Linked DNA regions of Homo sapiens: regions 1 and 2 are each linked to region 3. Evidence: promoter capture Hi-C in human tissues and cell types (Jung and others, 2019). All regions are on one chromosome and are shown on one strand. The core of a region is centred on a gene start or on the middle of the fragment in contact, and the rest is flanking DNA. Distances in the headings are between cores, read along the strand shown.

Evidence for each region. Contacts are between HindIII fragments. The study calls those that stand out against the background at their distance.
Region 1: a contact is called between a fragment that was not itself captured here and the fragment with the promoter of DALRD3 in region 3, in 2 of the 25 tissues and cell types used here (adrenal gland and pancreas).
Region 2: a contact is called between a fragment that was not itself captured here and the fragment with the promoter of DALRD3 in region 3, in 3 of the 25 tissues and cell types used here (adrenal gland, hippocampus and pancreas).

What each region holds. Positions count from the first base shown.
Region 1 is chr3:49,051,119-49,055,678 of GRCh38, forward strand. The region is part of intron 3 of QRICH1 (glutamine rich 1); the gene reads right to left. Among named protein-coding and RNA genes, the nearest start is that of IMPDH2, 24 kb to the left of the region's middle. The HindIII fragment of the contact is 9,844 bases long and covers 1-4,560 here.
Region 2 is chr3:48,953,184-48,958,054 of GRCh38, forward strand. All of the region lies in intron 3 of ARIH2 (ariadne RBR E3 ubiquitin protein ligase 2), which reads left to right. Among named protein-coding and RNA genes, the nearest start is that of P4HTM, 35 kb to the right of the region's middle. The HindIII fragment of the contact is 8,935 bases long and covers 1-4,871 here.
Region 3 is chr3:49,016,157-49,019,856 of GRCh38, forward strand. DALRD3 (DALR anticodon binding domain containing 3) reads right to left here and starts at 2,424. Exons shown (of 12, transcript NM_001009996.3): 1 at 2,244-2,424; 2 at 1,867-2,162; 3 at 1,457-1,713; 4 at 1,278-1,357; 5 at 1,072-1,200; 6 at 618-691; 7 at 456-517; 8 at 273-355; 9 at 2-184. The coding sequence starts at 2,408. RefSeq lists enhancers at 845-914, 1,200-1,971 and a silencer at 1,420-1,654. The HindIII fragment of the contact is 18,150 bases long and covers 1-3,700 here.

The DNA of each region.
Region 1 (4,560 bases), core at 692-3,191, 34 kb after region 3:
AGCTCCAATCACTATTCTGTCTACCCCAGAAATGAGCAATCTCTTCTTGGTGGCCTGTAGTAGCTGCTGCCACCACTACCAGCAATACCACCCTCCTTGTACTCCCCAGTCACATACACCTGAAATGAAAGGGTCAAATGCAATGGATGCTTTGGCCTTAACCTACTGGACCTTTCTGGCACATCCAACAATGTCACTCACAACATTGTCCTTTGCACTCTGCTCGGCTTCCTGATATATCATCCTCCCGGACCTCCCTCAGCTATCTAGCAGCTATTTCTCTGTATGCTTTGGGTTTTTCTCTGCCAGGCCCTTACGTGTTTGTCAACCATAGAGCTCCTCTATAGACCCACTTCTCATTTCAACTACATGTTCTCCCTGGTGAGTCTCACCCACTTTTCCAGTTTGGATATCCATATTTGTCAAAGTGACCACTATGTACCTCCAAGCTAGAACCCCCCCTGCGCCCCCCCCCCCCTCCGCTTAATATACCTAGTGGGTACTATACATCTCCAACTGAACAACTCATAGCCACCTCAAACTAACATCTACAAAGAGTATTCATTAGCTTCCCTGCCCAGATCTATTCTCCTGAGTTACCTCTCTCCTTCGTTCAATGGCAACATCATTTACCCAAACTGGAAATCCAGGAGTCTGGCTGAACAAGTAGGCAGTGGCTAGAGCATGGGAGGCAGTGCTTCTGTAGCAGGCCCCCTTCACTGTGTGCTTCCAAACACTAAATGTCAGTTAACATTCCCAAGCATCTTCCAAAAATTCTTCCAAACGTGTCCAAATGTCTATCAGTGGGTGGAGGAGGCAATAATGCAACCCAGGTTGAAAGCTACTCATACAGAGTATTGTACATTGTGGTGTAAATTTGTTCCTACATATAATGGAAGCCTTGGAGAGTTTTAAGCTAGGAAGTGACATAATCTTGTATTTTATGATTATTCTATGAAGAATAAATTGAAGAACAAGAATGGAAGCAAGTACTGGTGGCCTAGACTATAGTGGTGGCAGTGGAGATGATATAAGAGATTTTGAGAGGTGTGATGGTAGAACCAACATGGCTTGTTGATGAACTGGTTGTGGGGAGTAAGGGAAAGCAGACACAAAGATGACTCCTGGGTTTCTGGTTTGAACAACTAGGCGGAGAGCAGCACTACTTTCTGAGACAAGGAAGTTTGACAGTTTTAGAAATGGTGCCAATGAAGATCTGAGGTATTGTCAATAAGTCCAAGTAAATGCTAAGTAGGCAGCTGAATATGTGGAAAAGGTTCCAAACAGAGGAAGGCATGGCCGAGAGACTTATGTGTCAGTGCAGCACAGGGATTAAGACACAGGCTCCAGGGCCAGCCCATGCAGGGTTGAATCTCAATTCTGCCCCTTTTTTGTTTGTTTGTTTGAGATGGAGTTTCGCTCTGTCACCCAGGCTGGAGTGCAGTGGCGCGATCTCGGCTCACTGCAACCTCCACCTCCCAGGTTCAGGCAATTCTGTGCCTCAGCCTCCCAGGTAGCTGGCGCCCACCACCATGCCCAGCTAATTTTTTTATTTTTTTATTTTTTAGTAGAGACGGGGTTTCACCATCTTGGCCAGGCTGGTCTTTAACTCCTGACCTCGTGATCCACCCACCTCGGCCTCCAAAAGTGCTGGGATTATAGGTGTGAGCCACCACGCCTGGCCAATTCTGCCACTTTTTAAGCATGGCTTTGGCCTTGTCACTTAATCTCTCTGTGCCTGAGTTTCCTCATCTGTAAAACAGAAGTATCAGTACATACTTCATAAGGTTAATGTGAAAATTAGAAGAATATGTTAAACATCAAGAACAGTAGTACTGGCAGATAGTATCAGTGATTATCATCTTCAGCAGCAGCAAGAATCATCTGGAGGATGCTGAAAACCATGGCAATGGAAAGAAATCCCTTAGGGAGAAGAGGGCCAAATACTGAACCCTCAGGAACATCAACATGTATGATTCAGAGAGAGGAGGAGAAGGCACCGGTAAGCCTCCTGGGAATAAAGAAGATTCAGATGGGTAGGAGGAAAATCAGGAATGTGTAATAACATGCAAGTCTAAAGAAAGTCTCGGCCAGGCGCGGTGGCTCACGCCTGTAATCCCAGCACTTTGGGAGGCCGAGGCAGGTGGATCACGAGGTCAGGAGATCGAGACCATCCTGACTAACATGGTGAAACCTTGTCTCTACTAAAAATACAAAAAATTAGCCGGGTGTGGTGGCGGGCGCCTGTAGTCCCAGCTACTCGGGAGGCTGAGGCAAAATGGTGTGAACTCGGGAGGCGGAGGTTGCAGTGAGCCGAGATCGCACCACTGCACTCCAGCCTGGGTGACAGAATGAGACCCCCTGTCTCAAAAAAAAAAAAAAAAAAACAAGTCTCAACAATGGGCTGCTGTGTTGTATGTTGCTGTAGGATAAAAACATACTTGCTGGTCTGAACTGGCTATAGGGGGGTCACTGCTGACCTTGACAAGAACAGATTTAGTCATGAGTTGAAGGGAAATTTTTACAGCATCTAGAGCCCAGCTTGTGTAGATAATGTTTCTTTAGAGTTCTGGCAATAAAGTAGAACAGAAAAATGGGGCCACAGATGGCGGTTGGTGTGAGGAAGTGAGATTTCACCATAAATCTGGTTTTAAAGACAGAAGATATGATAGCTTTCATAAAAGGTATGGCCCTCTCCAACCTGTGGCAGATGAAGGAACACATTTTGTCACTAGCTCCCCTTAGGGTTCAACTTGACTGTCTTCTGCATGTGCTGTAAAGTGGTCCAAGGGTAGAAAAGACTGTCTTATTCATCTCTATTCCCCAGCTCCTAGCACAGAGCCTGCATAAGAGGGGAGAGGGATGTTTGTGGTATATATAGACAAACTCATCTTTCCCTTGGCATCTTTCCCTTGGGATGGAAAATCGGGATTCTTCACAATTTTTCTATTTCTGGTAATAATAACTTCATGTAAATCACTCTAAGACTTTCCCAAATCAGATACAGCCTCTGAAGAACACTGGCCCACTAAAATGAACTCCAGAAAGGATCTTCTCCTGCTGAAGACCCAGACATGGAAATTATAAACAGAGACCACTAAGTACCAAATGAGGCACTGACCTGCAATTGGACCATCAGGCCCAGGAGAGCTAGGGGAGGCCTAATGGGCTCCATCTCTGTGAACAAAAGCTGAGCATAGAGACCTGTTACAAATCTACTGGCTAGTTTCTCCTATATGCAGTCAATTCTACACACATCTACTTGATTCCTCCTGTTACCACAAATCTAGGAAATTCCTGATTTCCTACCACAGATTAGATCAAACTCAGTTCTACTTTGGGAAGGCAACAACCCCACCCCCACCCCTCAATACTAACTCCATTCTCACAGTTCCCTTCTCAAGTTGCATTAGGGCATGTCCCTTCTGTCCATCCTTGGCTCTGTATTTATGCTGTTCCATTCTTTTGTTTATCTAAACTATAAACTACAGTTCAACAGTTCAAGGCAGGGTGCAGTGGCTCATGCCTGTAATCCCAACATTCTGGGAGGCCAAGGTGGGAGGATCACTTGAGGCCAGGAGTTCAAGAGCAGCCTGGGCAACACAGTGAGACCCTGTCTCTACAAATATATATATATGCCGAGTGTGGTAGTCTGTGCCTATAGTCCCAGCTACTTGGGAGGCTGAGGCGGGAGGATTTTATGAGCCCAGGAGTTAGAGGCTACAGTGAATTATGATCACTACCATACTCCTACCTGGGAAACAAAGCAACAACCTGTCTCAAAAATAAATAAACTACAGTTCAAACGTCATTTTGTCCACAAAGACCTCTGTTGACTTCTTAACCTAGAATTTCTAAATTCCCAGTTTGTCTTTGTGTATATGTCATAATTATTCTGCCTTATAAATAATTCGAAGGAAAAGAAATCCTGAGTTCTTACTTTTCACAACTAGACTCTAAGCTATATGAAGCAAAAAACCTTCTCTTATTCTATTTCTAGGCCCAACAGCTAGATATTTAGCAGGTCCTTAACAATGTCACCTAGGATAATATGATACTGCCTCTATGAAACCACCTGGTCAACCTTTGCTTAATTAATCACTTACAGCCCATGTTTCCAAGTGCAGTCCCTTATCTAACTTGTTTGTACCAGCTCCCACAAACATATGCATGCTCAGGAGCCTATGCCCACCGAGGCATAGCACCTTCATCAGTCCCATAAGACCAGAGGCCCTATATCCCACTCTAACGGGACCAGATATTTTACCAATCAGTTCTTTTAGACAGGGTCTCACTCTGTTCTCTAGGCTGAAATGCAATGGCATGATCATAGTAGCCTCAACCTCCCAGGCTCATGCAACCCTCGCATCTACGCTGGGACCACAGGTATGTGCCATCACACTAGACTATATTTTTTAAATTTTTGTAGAGATAGGGTCTTCCTATATTGCCCAGGCTGATCTCAAACTCCTGGGCTCAAGCATTCCTCCCACCTCAGCCTCCCAGACTGCTGGGATTACAGGCAACTGCCACTGCACCCAGCACTAATAGTTTTTTTGT
Region 2 (4,871 bases), core at 177-2,676, 64 kb before region 3:
CCTCCCAAAGTGCTGGCATTACAGGTGTAAGCCACCGCGCCTGGCCAGCAATTCTGAGTAGATTGAAATTCATCAATTGAAATCAACATCTTATCAAATTATGAGCCAAACTGAATTAAAATCAGGAATAATCTGTGAATTTTTAATTTATGATTTTGGCAGTTAGACCCCATAAGCTTTGAAAAGTATTATAGTTATTAAACATGATTATTCATTTTCTTTTTTTTATTTTTTATTTTAGACGGAGTCTCGCTCTGTCTCCCAGGCTGGAGGGCAGTGGTGCGACCTCGGCTCACTGCAAGCTCCGCCTCCCGGGTTCACGCCATTCTCCTGCCTCAGCCTCCTGAGTAGCTGGAACTACAGGTGCCTCACAACGCCCGGCTAATTATTTGTATTTTTAGTAGAGACGGGGTTTCACCGTGTCAGCCAGGATGGTCTCGATCTCCTGATCTCATGATCCGCCCACCTGGCCTCCCAAAGTGCTGGGATTACAGGTGTGAGCCACCACGCCCAGCCATTATTCATTTTCTTGAAACAGTGTCTTGCTGAGTCACCCCGGCTGGAGCGTAGTGGCGTGATCATGGCTCACTGCAGCCTCTACCTCCTGGGCTCAAGCGATCCTCCTACCTTAGCCTCCTGAGTAGCTGGGACTACAGGCACATGCCACCATGCCCAGCTAATTAAAAAAAAAATGTTTTGGCTGGGCGTGGTGGCTCACACCTGTAATCCCAGCACTTTGGGAGGCCGAAGCGGGTGGATCACCTGAGGTCTGGAGTTTGAGACCAGCCTGGCCAACATGGTGAAACACTCTCTACTAAAATACAAAAATTAGCCGGGAGTGGTGGCAGGTGCCTGTAATCACCGCTACTTGGGAGGCCGAGACAGGAGAATCGCTTGAACCTGGGAGGCGGAGGTTGCAGTGAACCAAGATCGCGCCATTGCATTCCAGCGTGGGGACAGGAGCGAGACTTTGTCGCAAAAAAAAGAAAAGGCCGGGCTTGGTGGCTCACGCCTGTAATCCGAGCACTTTGGGAGGCCGAGGCAGGCGGATCACAAGGTCAGGAGATCGAGACCATCCTGGCTAACACTGTGAAACCCCCGTCTCTACTAAGGCATCGTGGTGGGCACCTGTAGTCCCAGCTACTCAGGAGGCTGAGGCAGGAGAATGGCGTGAACCCGGGAGGCAGAGCTTGCAGTGAGCCAGGATCGCACTACTGCACTCCAGTCGGAGCAACAGAGTGAGACTCTGTCTCAAAAAAAAAAAAAAGTTTTTTTCTACGTATAGGATCTCACTATTTGCCCAGGCTGGTCTCAAACTTCTGAATTCAAGTAATCCTGCCACCTTGGCATCCCAAAGTGCTGAGATTACAGGCTTGAGCCACCACACCCAGCCTGTAAGTATTCTTTACTCATGGTTTTGTGAATGTACAAAATGACTGTCAAAGAGATTCCACCATCTTAGGGTTTGCTCTTTAAACAGGGATGAGATTTCCTCTGGGGAATAGTGGAAATGAATTGGAGAATGGGTTTGCTGGAAACAGTAACCTAATGAATGGTACCCTTTTTGGCCCTTGATATGGAGGGAACAATAGATACCTTTTTTATCTCTGATTAGAGACTCAGATTACTCAGTAATTATCTTGAGACTCCTTTTGGACAAGAAACTTTCTAGTTTTTAATTTCTAGTTTTTTCCTCAGTTAATGTTTCTAGAAATAGAAAAAGCATTCATAGTGCCGGGTGTGGTGGCTCATGCCCATAATCCCCACACTTTGGGAGGCCGAGGCAGGATGATCACTTGAGGTCAGGAGTTCGAGACCAGCCTGGCCAACATGGTGAAATCCCATCTCTAGTAAAAATACCAAAAATAGCTGGGCGTGGTGTTGAGTGCCTGTAATCCCAGCTACTTGGGAGGCTGAGGCAGGAGAATCACTTGAACCCGAGAAGCAGAGGTTGCAGTGAGCCAGCGTCGCGCCACTGTACTCTAGCCTGGGCGACAGAATGACACTCCATCTCAACAGAAACGAAAAAGAAAAAGCATTCATAAATAAATAGGACTTTTAATCCTCTGGTTACATGTTGATCTAATAGAACTGCAAGTTTCTTCTGAACACCACATTGGTCACATGTGTTCCTTCTAAGTCATTAGTCTTTTTTTTTTTTTGGCTTACATTGGTTGTTTACTACCCTGGATCCATTTTTCTTTTGGAAAAGATTTGGCCTTTTCTTTATAAGTTGTCTTGATAATACTTAATCCTAACTACCAACAGGTTGTTAGCTCCTTCATTACAACAGCCCAGCAAGAGCTCTTCTTGATTCTACTGAAAGGTTTTCTCTTCACAATTGAACAAATTATAAAGGGTAACAAGGGGACAGGGGGTGAAGGACTCAGTTATGAAAGTGTTGACTGTGATAGATTCTAAATGGATTGTTGAGCTCTTTCAAGCATTAAAGACTAATGGTGTGAATACTAGTTCGTTCCTTAGAAAGCTCAGCTGTTTGTACTCAGACAGATTTTTACCTTTAATCTGGCTTAATATTGTTTAGAAGATTTGTTTTGGCCCTCCTGCCAGGAGGCCAAGATGGCTCAAGGTGGCCACTGCTTCCTCTGGAAAACTGCTGGGGAGTTGAGATGGGGGTTCAGTCAGTTCTCTCTTGTGACCCAAATCAGGGAGAAGGTAGCCTCCTTGCTGAGACTACCTTTTAGAATATATTATTCTAGAGTATCATTTTCTCACTGTTTTTCTCCATCTCTGTGCTGCTTTTGCTCAGAGGACTCTGGGGAATCTGGCTTTCCTGTAGATCCTTCCTGGTGTCCATTACTGGATGAGGTGCAGTGACACTACATTTTCCCTTAATTAGTGGTCTCAGAATCTCATCAGGTTTGTAGTAGATTTTTGAGAGAGAGAGTCTCCAATCTTCTGTGTACTATCAACCTAATATGTGTAATTATCTCCTTTACTTTTTTTTTTTTTGAGACGGAGTCTCACTCTGTCACCGAGGCTGGAGTGCAGTGGTACCATGTCGGCTCACTGCAACCTCCATCTCCTGGGTTCAAGCAATTCTACTGCCTCAGCCTCCCGAATACCTGGGATTACAGGCGCCCGCCACAACACCCAGCTAATTTTTATATTTTTAGTAGAGACGGGGTTTCACCGTGTTGGCCAGGCTGGTCTCGAACTCCTGACCTCAGGTGATCCGCCTGCCTCTGCCTCCCAAAGTGCTGGGGTTACAGACGTGAGCCACTGCGCCCGGCACTTTTTTTTTTTTTTTTTTTTTTTTTTTTTTTTTTAAGAGACAGGGTTTTGCTGTGTTGCCAGGCTGGCTGTGGTGTTGAACTCCTGGGCTAAGCAATTCTCCCGCCTCAGCCTCCTGAGTAGCTGGGACCACAGGCATGAACCACTGTGCCTGGCAGTCACCCCCACCTTGATGTGGGGATCCCAGTAGTGTCTCTTACAGAAGGCTGCTGGGAGATGCATACAGCTGACGTGTGTGTGTGTGTGTGTGTGTGTGTGTATTTATTTTTTATTTTTTTGAGATGGAGTTTTGCTCTATCACCCAGGCTGGAGTGCAGTGGCACGATCTCGGCTCACTGCAACCTCTGCCTCCCGGGTTCAAGCGATTCTCCTGCCTCAGCCTCCTGATTTCCCAAGTAGCTGGGATTACAGGCGCCCGCCACTACGCCCAGCTAATTCTTGTATTTTTATTAGAGACGGGGTTTCACCATGTTGGCCACAACTTAGCTGGTCTCAAACTCCTGACGTCAAGTGATCTGCCCGCCTCGGCCTCCCAAAGTGCTGGGATTATAGGCACGAGCCACTGTGCCTGGCCTATCCTATACGTATTGATGTCCTCTTGGCTGTTGCCATTAAAAGAATAGATTTACACCTCACCACTGTCCATTTTATAAAGTGGTAGGCATATCTCCCTTCACATTGTTTGTTCTCACCAGAACTCAGCTCTGCTGGGATATTCTGAGTTGGTCATTATCAGACTTGTAATCATTAGGAAATTCTTGGCTTCAGTAGAGGGTTATGTTGTTATCTGTAGGTGAGCACTACCTAGTGTGTTAATTCTGAGGCTTCACTGTGGCTGTTGGTGCTGTTGAAATCAAGAGATCAGTGTTAAACCTTCTTGACCTTTCTAATGAAACAACAAAATTTTATTTTAAATCCACAGCTTAAAGACATACCATTTAATAATCAGCATTTGTTGAATGGCTACCCAGTGTCCAGTCCATTTCTGGGCTTTGTGGATCTGTGAGTCAACCCTGACCCCTGTTCTTAGTGTAAAGGGCCCATCTGTAGTGAAAAAAGACGGCAGCTGTTGGACATGGTCAGAATTCCTCTGAGTTACTAGGTGGCATAGTATCTTTGCTAGGACTTGGTGGTCATGCATAATGAGACATGTAGAAGTCAGAACAGAAAGCATGGTGTAAGGCTGATTGGGCCCCACTGGGTATGAGAAGAAAGAAAAGGTTCCAGCAGGGAGTTCATCTAAAACAGTATCACTTCATTGTTTTTGTTTGTTTGTTTGTTTGTTTGTTTTTGAGACAGAGTCTTACTCTGCTGTCGCCCAGGCTGGAGTGCAGTGGCGCGATCTCAGCTCACTACAACCTCCGCCTCCCGGGTTCAAGCGATTCTCCTGCCTCAACTTCCCGAGTAGCTGGGACTACAGGCACCTACCACCACACCCAGCTAATTTTTGTATTTTTAGTAGCGACGGGATGTCACCATATTAGCCAAACAGGTCTTAATCTCCTGGTCTTGTGATCCACCTGCCTTGGCCTCCCAAAGTGCTGGGATTACAGGTGTGAGCCACTGCGCCTGGCCCCACTTCATGTTTTTTAAAACTATTCGAGGGGTAAACTGAC
Region 3 (3,700 bases), core at 1,174-3,673:
CCTCATCATGTAGCAGTGAGAAGTCCAGACTGCTCACAGGAGGAAAAGTGGGGTACAGACCTTGTTCCATACTACACTTGTAACTCTCAAAGAGTGTGGCAAGACGGGCACAATTATACATGACAAAGGTGCCACTCTTTGTGCCCTTCGTGGAGATACTGCTGTCAGCCAGAGCCAGGAAGAGCTGGGGAATAGAAGCACAGCTGCAGAGAGAGAAGGCAGCCACCACACCCTGTGCCCCAACACTGGCCCTGTCAGGCTCCCAGGCTCACCTGACTCTGTGGGGCTGTGCTCAGCATCTCAAACTTGATGGTGGCCACAGAGAGAACACCAAAGATCTCTGTCCAGGCTGGGTCTGAGGGAGTATAGGGTTGGTCAGTCAGTCTGCAGGCAAGGGCAGGGATGCAAAAAACCTGCCCCTAACCCAGAACATAGCCAGGGTTTCCCAGGCACACCTTGTGCCAGATCCCCACCATGCTTCAGTGCTGAGGCCTTGCACACCTGGGTATGCCGGAACCTGTGTTTGGAAGAGAGGAAGGCCAGTGGGCAGGGTCCTGGGTAAAGAGTCCCCCCTCATTACCCTGGCTTAGGTTGGTGTTCCTCCCAGCCTCACTCACTCGTAGTACTCAGGGGCAGTCATCAGAGTGCCAGGTGCACCAGCTACTTTCACAGGGCCACAGATGAGGTGCTTCTGTCAGAAAGATGTCAGGGGCTCAGCCTAGTTGGCGCTACTCTCCAGGAAGTCCCTTGAGGAGCCCAAATCTGGTGCCTCTACTCAGCCCAGACTCCCTCAAATTGGAACTGCCAGGTTGAGTGCCTCCGTCTACCCAGCCACTCAGGCTACGCATGGTTCATCCTTCTCAACCTGGTCTTCAGTGTTCTTGGGATGTGTCTACAGACCCCCCTTCCCCAGAGCCTCTGCACCTGCTGTACATGCCCTCTCAAGTCCAGCAACTCCCCCAAGGTCAAGTGTTGGTTTCTGTCAGCTAACAAGCCCCTCGGTGGGTTTTCAAGGGCCCTCTGAGGTTGGGGGTTAGGTGGTGGGGAGCTCCACCATCATTATTAACCTACCTGTCTGAGTGGAGCCTTGTCAACCAACTTCTGCCAAAGCAGGTCCAACTTCTGTTGCTGGAACTCCTCCTCACAGCTAACAACATGTACAACCAGGCAGCCGCCTGTACCAGTATCTGAGGCCCCAGCCTAAGGGAGGACAATCATAACTGTGGAAGTACAGTATACTTGGTTTGGGAGAACCTACAGGGCTGGGAGTCACTAACCAGGCCTGGGTGGCTGTCCTCGGGCCAATGCCATAGAGCCTCTTGCAGCTCAGCCAGCACAGAGAGGAGATCCTCAGTCACTGAAAAGAGAACAGACAGGTGCTGAGACTGACAAGAAGCAGAGATGTGCCCCTAACCCCCTCCTGCCTTTTCTGGCCCTGCTAGGCTTCAGGTCCTACCCAGACAGTTGTCCAGGTTGGGGTCATAGCCAGCTGTGCGGCCCTGTTCTTCCACCAGCTCCTTCAGACACAGTCTGCCTAGGATGCCAGGGGACAGTGTCCTCCCGTCATTAGCAGAGGTAAGTTCTTCAAGGGCGTGGCTCCTCAGGGTGTGGGAGGAAGCTCTCTCCGAGGCAGCGGGCCAGTCCACCCGCAGTTGCTGCAGGAAGGTCAGCATGTGCGGATCCCGCACAGCTGGCACTAGGCGCACGCACACCCTGCGAAGGGAGGGCGGCCGCCTCAGTCTGAGCACCTGGTCCAGCTCGCCACGACTTCCCACCTCCAGCCGCAGTCCCCACGGGCGGCGCCGCTCGCTTTCTAGGTACCCGGCAGTCCCACTTTCTCCATTCCGGCCCCGCGGCCCCGCTCACCCGTGAGCGCGCAGGGCTCGCGCCAGGTGATCGGCCACGAGCACCGTACGCAGCTGGCTCAAGCGGAGTGCGCAGGGGGAGCTGCGCAGTGCTGGGCAGTGTAGTAAGACGCGCTGGCCCAGCGAGGCAGGCGAGGCGGGCGTGGCATAGGCGGCCACGGCGCTGAGGACGCGCTCGAAGACGGCGGACCGCTGCAGTTGGAGAGACAGACCCGCGGGGGTCGGCGCGCAGCGCAGCACCGGGGCCACACCGGGGCCCTGCAGGCAGGCGAGGGCATGGAGCAAATGCTCCGGAACCTGCGGGAGAACGGGCGTGTAAAAGAGCCACGGCACGGGGCCCATCTCCCGGCCGCACGGCCCCGCCCGGCTCACGCCCACCTGGCCGTCATCGAAGCGCGCCTGCAGCGCGCGGTGCGGTGCCAGAAAGTCTCGGGAACGCAGGTGGCGGGTGCGCGTCTCCTTGATCCACACCGGACCGCCTGGCCCCAGGGCCGCGTTGAGGGCCCCCAGCGTCTCCCCGACCCCAAGGCGCCTGGTCGCCATGGTGACCGGAAGGAGTAAGCGGAACCGGAAAAAAATTTAGGGAGGTGGAACTTCCGGAAAGGACCGACTAGCTGGGGCGGGGATGCGGCGGTGGTCCCCGTAAGTGGACAGGTGCGCCAGTGGTAGCCCTGTCGGCTGCTTTCGACCTACCGCCCCCAGCGCCCCTTCCGCGTGGTCCACCTGCACAGCCGGGCCCCGGATCTGAAATCTCGGGGCCCTCCCTGGGCCTAGGGTTCTTTCGCTGTGACCCAGGCCTTAACCAGGAAAAGGATCCTCGCGACCCGGTGGGCGCTTAGACCGGGTACCGTCTCTTCTCATCGAAGTCTCACATGTTTGTTTTAATAACATTTCATTTCTCCCATTTTACACATGATGAATATTCGTCACTGGAATAAGGCAGTATAACATTAAGGCCACTTTCACGACCTACTTAAAATATCTCGTTTTAAAAAGAATAGTGTTCCGCGGTTTCAGGTTATTTGCAAGCATTTTCTCGTTTGAGATATGGGTGTTTTTTTGTTTGTTTGAGACGGAGTCTTGCTCTTGTCTCCCAGGCTGGAGTGCAGTGGCACGATCTCGGCTCACTGCAGCCTCCACCTCCCGGATTCACAGGATTCTCCTCCTCAGCCTCCCGAGTAGCTGGGATTACGGGCGCCCGCCACCACGCCCGGCTAATTTTTGTATTTTTAGTAGAGACGGGGTTTCGCCATGTTGGCCAGGCTGGTCTCGAACTCCTGACCTCGTGACCTGCCCGCCTCGGCCTCCGAAAGTGCTGGGATTACAGGCATCAGCCACTGCACCCAGCCCGGGTGGTCTTTATGCCCAATAAATAAGCACTCTGATACAGTTGGCGGTTTTCTTCTCTTGATACCTGAGAAATCACAACCATCATGATGGCTTCCAGAATTACCAGACTTTTTTTTTTTTTTTTTGAGACGGAGTTTCGCTCCTGTTGCCCAGGCTGGAGTACAGTGGTGTGATCTTGGCTCACCGCAACCTCCCCCTCCCGGGTTCAAGTGATTATCCTGCCTCAGTCTCCCAAGTAGCTGGGATTACAGGCACGCGCCACCACGCCCGGCTACTTTTGTATTTTTAATAGAGACGGGGTTTCTCCATGTTTGTCAAGCCTCGAACTCCCGACCTCAGGTGATCCGCCTGCCTCGGCCTCCCAAAGTGCTGGGATTACAGGCGTGAGCCACCGCGCCCGGCTCAGAATGACCAGCTTTTAATGTGACTCCTTTAACCTGGTGTGCTTTAACAACGATCCTTAAAGCTTCCTGTTTTAGGCAACA